2 separate regions of the Homo sapiens genome follow, and region 1 is linked to region 2. The links are contacts of gene promoters, found by promoter capture Hi-C in human tissues and cell types (Jung and others, 2019). All regions are on one chromosome and are shown on one strand. The core of a region is centred on a gene start or on the middle of the fragment in contact, and the rest is flanking DNA. Distances in the headings are between cores, read along the strand shown. Region 1 has its middle 83 kb from the start of LRRC3B-AS1. Region 2 holds the start of LRRC3B (leucine rich repeat containing 3B).

Region 1 (3,669 bases), core at 991-3,490, 84 kb after region 2:
TTTAAATTCTAAAAAATAGTCGGGTGTAGCATACTCACCTGTATTTCTCCAACATGGGGGTATTGACCACCTGGACACTTTGATTTTGTTTGATTACCCATACCTCTAGTCTGATTTTTTAAGCTTGCCTATCTATTTCTAAAATCTACATTATCCTAGGGGAGGTTAAGTAGGTAGGGGAATAGGAGAATCCAAGGTGTCAAAATAGGGTTTTAGAGAGAAGGAGAACACTCTACTAATGACTATGGGAGAGATCCAAGAGTCAGCAAAGCCAAAAATGGTGAAGAAGATACACCAACCTGCTCAAATGGGGAGAAACAAGATTTATCATATCCAGAAGAGGCGAAAATGAATTTCACAGTCGTGCAGGAATACATGGCATGTCCATCATCAAGGGCCTTGGCCTATCAATAGTATAGCAACTTTGATCCATTTAGACTAGAGAAGTATTTAGTAACATTGTTAATAATAATAATGAAGTTCCTCTGGCCATATGCAAATAAACAACATGGTATTAGAAAAAGAATGTAAGCTTTGGAATCAAACAGACTCAGGTAAGTTACTCAGGGATGTTGCTCAGAAAATAAGATTATTTCCAATGTTAGACAGTGATTGGCACTTTGTAAGCACTCCATAAGTGCTAATAGTCATTTTGCAATAGATGATAACATTCTTGAGGCCAAGGACCATCACATTTGGGTTATGTCCGCAGTATGTGGCAAAGTACCTAGCATATAGTAGGTATTTAACACATGTTGAATAAAAGGAATACTTGAGAAAAATTGGCAAAGGAAAGATAAATTCTAGTTTTATTTCAATTCACATCTCTTTTGTAATATATTTTATAGTGGATATTTCAGCCACTTCTACAATTTCCCTCTCTCAACATTTAATTTCAGCTAGCTCTGCTCTGTCTTGTAAGGTGGACACATCTAGTTAGTTATCGTCCTTGGATCATCACTGTGACATTCACATCCTGATATTATGTTTATTTTTGGGTGACATGGTGCTATTTATTCAAAACCAATCATTTATTTCATTCATTGTATTTTCAGTTAGCTTAATTATGCTTAATTAATGACCATGATTCATCAAGACATGGCCCCACCTCCAATCTACCCTGCTCCCCTTCCCCGTAGTCCATCTCCAAAATCAGTTAGTGTTTCAGTCCAGTGCTGCTCAAACCTGTGTCAGAATCACCCAAAGAGCTAAATTAGACTGCTAAATCCCTCTTCCAGAGAGTCTCATTCAGGCAATAAGAATTGTGGTCTGATAATTGGCATTTCTAATATGCTCCCAGGTGATGATCCTGCTGGTTCATGGATCACACTTCAAGTAGAACTATTCTAGCCCTATGATATTATCCAACTTTTCCCTGACATATAAGCATTTTTATGCTTCCATATCTTTGATTTTTCTATTTCCTTTCCCTAGAATATCATTCCCTGGTCTTTTCTCTTGGAAGACTTCTACTCATCTGTTGGTCCCAAATTTAGTGTTATCTTATCTCGAATGCTTTCTCTGTCCCATTCTTTATTCCTAAAGTATTAGTCCTTTCTTATTAGCTTTATCCCTAGGCCCCTGTCACCTGAACACAATTGAGCAGCTTTTCTGATTGTGCTTAGTTTGTACTTTATGCTTCTGCTTTTCCCGCTAGATTGTGAGTTCACTGAGGTCAGAGACTATGATTTTCCTGATGCTTATGTTCTTCTCACTAACAAAGTTTTGGATAGAAAGACTTTTAAAAAATATGTTTGTTCTTGATTAAATTATTGTTCCTTTTTTCCTTCCTTAGGTTAGACTGTAATTGCATTGCAACTTCATACTAAAGGTTTTGTTCAGTTTTCCAGTTATTATACCAGATGGCACCAGAAGGCTTTGGTTTAATTCTCTATGGGGATATTGGGGAATATTAGGTAACTGCTGTGGCACAACAAGGATCTCAAGGAGCATTAGCAAAGTCTAACAATTATAACTCCCTTTAAAAACCATTGTTGTCTTCAGGGACTCTCAGCAGGCCAGAATCATTAGTGACAAAACATTATCAACATACTCTCCAAATAGGAAGGATGTTGCCTATGTGGAATGGAAGGAAATTGGGCCAGTGAGACCGTTTGCCTAACCTACCTGAGCTTCATTTCAGATTGAGAACAATCAAAACTTGTAAATTAGCTTCAGATTCATGGGGAGCTTAAAAAATTCTCAGGGGTGGTAAAAGTATCTGATTTGCTACTTGTGCTTCCTTGAGCTATTCCATAAAGAAGATTTCAGCATGCTGCAATAAAGAAGAAGAATGGTTCTCTCAAAGAGTTTCATTTATTTGGTTGTGATTTCTCAGTTATGAATTAACATTTCCAGCCAAAAGCAGGGAAGGGTTATAGGGAGCTGGGGTACAATCATGCATATTAGTTAGTTTTTCATAATCATTTACTTGTTTTCACTAAAAAATGAGCCATGATATACTGCAAGTCTATGCTTCTGTGAGAACACTTGCTCAAGAATGATAATTTAACATTTACCAGCAAGAATCCATTGCAACTGAATGCTATTATATAATTATCCCCCAACTCCAAGTATTCTGCAAGCCCCTTCTCTGCCCAAGAAACACTATCCCAGGGGATTGAATAAGGAGTTTAGTTCCCTTGTCTTAGACAACTTCTAGAGTTATTGGCTAATAAATGATCAGAGTCTGTTTATTATCCAAGGGCAGCAGTCTTTGGGAGACTACTATCTCTACTCAATAGAGAGAGTAGAAATAAGAGTTCAATATGAACAAAAAGTATCTATAAAATTCAGCCCCACAATGATCTTATTTGGTTTTGGCAAGTATAATGCAAACATCAGACCCCAGATCACCAGACAAAGACAGTTTCTTTCTTCCCTTCCCCTTCCCCTCCCCCTTCTCCTTCCCTTTCCCCTTCCCCTTCCCCTTCCTTCCTTCCTTCCGTCCTTCCCTCTGTCTCTCTCTCTTAATTTCTTTTCTGCCTTTCTTTGTGACAGAGTCTGGCTCTGTCACCCAGGCTGGAGTGCAGTGGCACAATCATGGCTTATTTTAGCTCAGTCTGGGCTCAAGTGATCTTCCCACCTCAGCCTCCCAAGCAGCCAAGACTACAGGAGTGCACCACTGGCTAATTTTTGTAGAGATGGGGTTTTGCCATGTTTCCCAGGCTGGTCTCAAACTCCTGGGCTCAAGCAGTCAGCTTGCCTCAGCCTCCCAAACTGTTGGGATTAGAGATGTGAGCCACCATGCCCAGCCTAAAGAAGGTTTTGTGGTAAAAATAAAGGCAGAGTTTGGGCAAGAAAATAGCTGGAAATTGAGGCAGATCCAAAGATTGGTGTCTCCCTCTTTCATGGACCACCTGGTCTTTTTTTCAGAGCATATCTGCTTTCCTTGTTGTGCATTTGGTTCTCTCCCTTCCTATTGATTTTTTCATTTGCTCTTGCAGATCCTCTTGACTCCCTAATAACTTCTACTTTCAAATAAATTTGGCTACACCTCCTTTTCCCTTCATTTCTGCTGCTCATTGCCAAACTCATTCTGTTTTTTAATTCAAATTATTAAAATAATTACTTGAAATCTAACCTGTTCATCACATGACTTTATAACACACGTGTGGGTCAGCATATGTTTAGCTATAACCAGGAAGAAAATGGAGGGAGCACAGGGTA
Region 2 (4,091 bases), core at 2-2,501:
TTTTCCTCTTCGTCAGATGGCCTCTCAGGGCTGGCCGCTCGCCCACATTAGCAGTACCTTTTCATTTCCCTCAACCGTGGGCAGATCTACCCGACCCTCAGCTTCCTCCTCCACCGCACGAGCAGCCTTTCCCTCCCTGAGCCACTTACTTCACCCACCCATATCTGCACTTGCAGTTCCCACGGCGCACAGCCGCAAGCCACTCCAAAGGTTTCATTGCCGAGTTGGGGGTGGCGTGTGCAAGGATGGACTGACTCCCATCGCGCTGGACGAAGCTTCAGGGGTGGCCGCAGCCATCCTCCATGTCCCACCTCTCTTATTTCACCTTCTCTGTCCCTACCCAGCTCCTAGAGGCAGGACGAGCACTGCTGGGTCCCAAACCCTCGCCTCAGGAGCCAGAGCTGCGGGGAGTGAAAAGTCGACTGGCAAGAACACACAGAGAGAAATGGGCAGATGCATATGGCAAGAGGGGCTGGGGGAAGGGCAAGAACTAAACCTGCAAGTTGCACAGCACGGGGTGAGCACCGCGCAGGGAAGGGGTCACAAAAGTTTGCAGACTATTGTATAGCAGCCGGCTGAACAGGAGCGAAGAGGGTCGACTCTCTCTCTCCAGGAGGAGGTCTCTCCCAGGGTCTGCGCAAAAGGGATCAGGGAGGCTTAGACAGGCACGGCTTAGAACTGGTGTAATAGTTCTCCTCTACTTGTTCCTTGGAGGGACGGCCTAGGTACCCGGGCAGAGGGATGATCCCGCGCTCTGCGAAAAGCAACAGGCGGCTGCACCTTACCTTGCGCCAGTCCCGGGCCGGGGTGGCTGCTCCATCCTCGTGGCTCAGGGAGGAGGCGTTGGGTGCGTATGCTTAGGGGTGTGCCCGCTGCCAGGGCTGCAGCGGCCGCCACCTCCAACCAGCTGCAAGCCGAGCTGCCCACCTGGGACCGGGCCGGCCCGGCGGGCTTGGCTCCCGGCGAAGGCGGCGGCGTTGGTGCGCGGCGGCTGGGGCGCGGGACGCAGGCAGTGCGTGGCGCGGCTGGCGTCTTCGGGCGCCGCCACCGAGCGAGGGTGCGGCCCCGGGCGGCCGTGCGGGGCACGACTTGGCTCGCGTTGCTGCGGCGGCCGCTGCAGACCCTGCTCCAGGCGCCGTAGCCTTGCAGGAAGAGCAGACAAAGACAGGAGAGAGGCAAAGCGCCGCTTGCCCAGAGATGCAGTCGGCTCAGTCAATAGAGGGAAATCGCCTCCAAACCCAGGCTGGGAATGAGGGAGGAGGGGCGAGGCGGCTGGGGACTAGAAAAAGCAGCAGGGAATTAACGTGACAGTCAGAGCCCAGCCAGTGCCTCGCCGGCGCTGCTCTCTCGCCTCGCGGTTGCGGGGTCCGGAATGGAGAGAGGAGGCGGGGGCTGAGCGTTGGCTGCCGGAGACCAGCTGAGGTAGGAGTATTAACTCCCTCTGCTGCTCTCGCCTGCCTTCCTCGCACCCCCTTACACAGCTCTACTTGCAGCAGGCTATGGCCCCATTCTTTCTCCTATTTTTCTAACTACTGAGATCAGAGCTGAATTAAGCTGGTGAAAGGAGCAAAACGTGCAAGGGATTGATTGCCCTCCTTGGGGGAAAAGCGGAGGCTTAAAATCAATTCGACAAATGAGTGTTTACTGGGTGCTGAGTACTGTGCTCCGCTATTGTGAGGGAGGGTTATGAATAAGGTACCCCCCTCCCGCCCCAGGGTCCGTTGTCTGATCTCAGAATCAGTTTCCCCTGCAGTTCTGGAAGCCCAAAGTTTCGGGGTTGAGTTGTGGTCCCTGATCCCGATCCTCAACCAATCTAGCTTTCTAAATCAGAAGAAGGTGGAATTCAATTTTCCTTTCTCCTTCCTGGGATGACTTTAACCTGCAGCCGAAATGGAGTCTATAGGCCCCTTAAAAAAGCGCGCGCACGCCAGTGTGTGTGTGTGCGAGCGCGCTCGCGTGCGCGCGTGTGTTTTAAGAGTAAGTCAAATTAATGGTTTTAGTGATGTTCTTATTTCATGATTTTAATTATTTACCATATCTGCAGTAGACACCAGTTTGGGGCAGAGGAACCCGCCTCTCCAGACTCTACAAATACCACCTTTTTTTCTAAAGCTTTTTTCCGCTACCCCAGTCCTCTGACTCGAGGCAGAAATCTTTCCCCTCTCTTTGCCCTCTCAGAATTTTATTTGCCAATCACTTGCGGAACTTATATATTTATAGATTTATCTCTTCACTCACATATGAGTATTCCCTGTGCTTTTTGTTTGTTTGTTCTCACTGCAACATCCAGCAGTGTTTTGTATCTAATGGGTACTCAAGGAAAGCTTATCCAGTTGAAGGTCATTTTCTCCTTCTGTATGAGCTAAATCTCAGTGTCTCTAGAATTAAAGAGACTCCAGGGATGGAACTTTTGATTTAGGGTGTGGTGGAGGGAACCACACATACAGTTAGACTCACAGCCCCTTTACTGGAAAGGTAATAAAGTATTTAATTCATTTTGGTCTCTAGACAATCAACCTTCTCCCACTGACCACCCACCTCTGTTTCCTGAATTCCCAAAAGCAAAAGAAAACCAAACTGCTAAGCAACTGCCTAGAGCAAGACATGTATGTTCAGCTGCCAACACCTAGAGCAAACCCATTCCAAGTGGAGAATGACCAAAAAATCTTGATTATTTCTTGACCTGTGTCAAGTATGTTGAAAGCCTGCCAAAGTTTCCTCATTTCTATTGAAGCACTCTTATTCTGGATGCATTTTAGAACAGTTTGAACAGTGTTACATTGCTCAGAGGTGAAGAAAATTGCTTTGTAGTTTAAGGATATTTAAGATTTGTTTGTTTGTTTGTTTGTTTTCTGTCCCACCTTCTACAAATTGCACGATAGATACCTCAGATCAGGAATGCTGCATGAAAAAGTATGTCCATAATGCAGGAGATTAGACTAAATGACTCTTAAGATATCTTCTGTCTCTTAGACGTTATGATACTGTGATTTAAAAGATTGCGGTTTAAAGTTTTTTTTTTTTTTAATTTTTGTTTTTGTTTTTTAAAGGAGATTTTAGAACACAAACATAGATACATGTGGATAGCAGGTATGTAATTTGGTGTCGTTTTTCTGAAGGGAAATTTGGCATGCTATTGAAAGCATAACATTTTTGCATTTCATTTTTCCAGTGACTCTAATTCTTCAAATTCATCCTCAGGAAATAACTAAGGTTGAGCAACAAGATTTATCTACCTGGATATTCATTGTAGTGTTGTTTATATTAGTGAAAAATTGAAAAGAAACAAAACTAAACTCAAATGTCTACCAAGAGAGGAATGGTAAAATATTTTGTAAATCTATACAATGGAATATCAGTCAGACACTAAAATGTTGTAGGTGAATATTATCATGATTTATGGTTGTAATATAATTTTAGTCAAAAATTTCAGATGCACAAAGTGAGAAGTAGAATAGTAAAAAATAAAATCTGGAGTTGACAAATCTGGGTTTGAAACCAGGCATTTCTACTTGCTGACTATGTGATTATGGACCTGAACCTCCAATACATCGACTGTATAATTGGGTTGATGTTATTTACATTGTAGTATTGTTGCGATTAAGTGAAATAGCATTTATGAAGCCCTTAGCATGGTGCCTAATGCATAGTAAAATCTCAATATATTAAATAGATTTATTTGGCAAACAAATGTATAAACATGAGTTTAAGGTATGATATATTTTCTGGTAAAAATATATACATATATAGACTCATTTCTACAGTAAGATATACTTCAATATTACCAGTGGCTATCTCTGTTGGCACTGGGATTTGGGGTGTCTTAAAAAAATTCTGTAGTAATCATAAAGTAAAATTATATAGTAAATAACAGCGGAATTTGTTTTTAATTTAATTGTCTTTTAATTAAAATACGACTAACTATGGACATAGGAAACCTCTAGATTTGGAAGTTTTCTGTTTTTGTTGATTCATCAACAAGTCATCAACATTACTTGTTGACTGTTGGTGTCACCCATGCTATAAAAAGGATAAATGACAGGGCATGGAGTTTGTCACCTCTGATATAAACTTAGATTTGTTTTGTAGCA

The links. Contacts are between HindIII fragments. The study calls those that stand out against the background at their distance.
Region 1: a fragment that was not itself captured here is called in contact with the fragment with the promoter of LRRC3B in region 2 in 2 of the 25 tissues and cell types used here (mesendoderm cells and thymus).

The regions. Positions count from the first base shown.
Region 1 is chr3:26,537,473-26,541,141 of GRCh38, reverse strand. No RefSeq gene overlaps it. Among named protein-coding and RNA genes, the nearest start is that of LRRC3B-AS1, 83 kb to the left of the region's middle. The HindIII fragment of the contact is 3,824 bases long and covers 329-3,669 here.
Region 2 is chr3:26,619,932-26,624,022 of GRCh38, reverse strand. It overlaps LRRC3B (leucine rich repeat containing 3B), which reads right to left and starts at 1,251. Exons shown (of 2, transcript NM_052953.4): 1 at 786-1,251. LRRC3B-AS1 (LRRC3B antisense RNA 1) reads left to right here and starts at 1,260. Exons shown (of 4, transcript NR_183726.1): 1 at 1,260-1,422; 2 at 3,051-3,090. RefSeq lists an enhancer at 1,402-1,917. The HindIII fragment of the contact is 7,905 bases long and covers 1-4,091 here.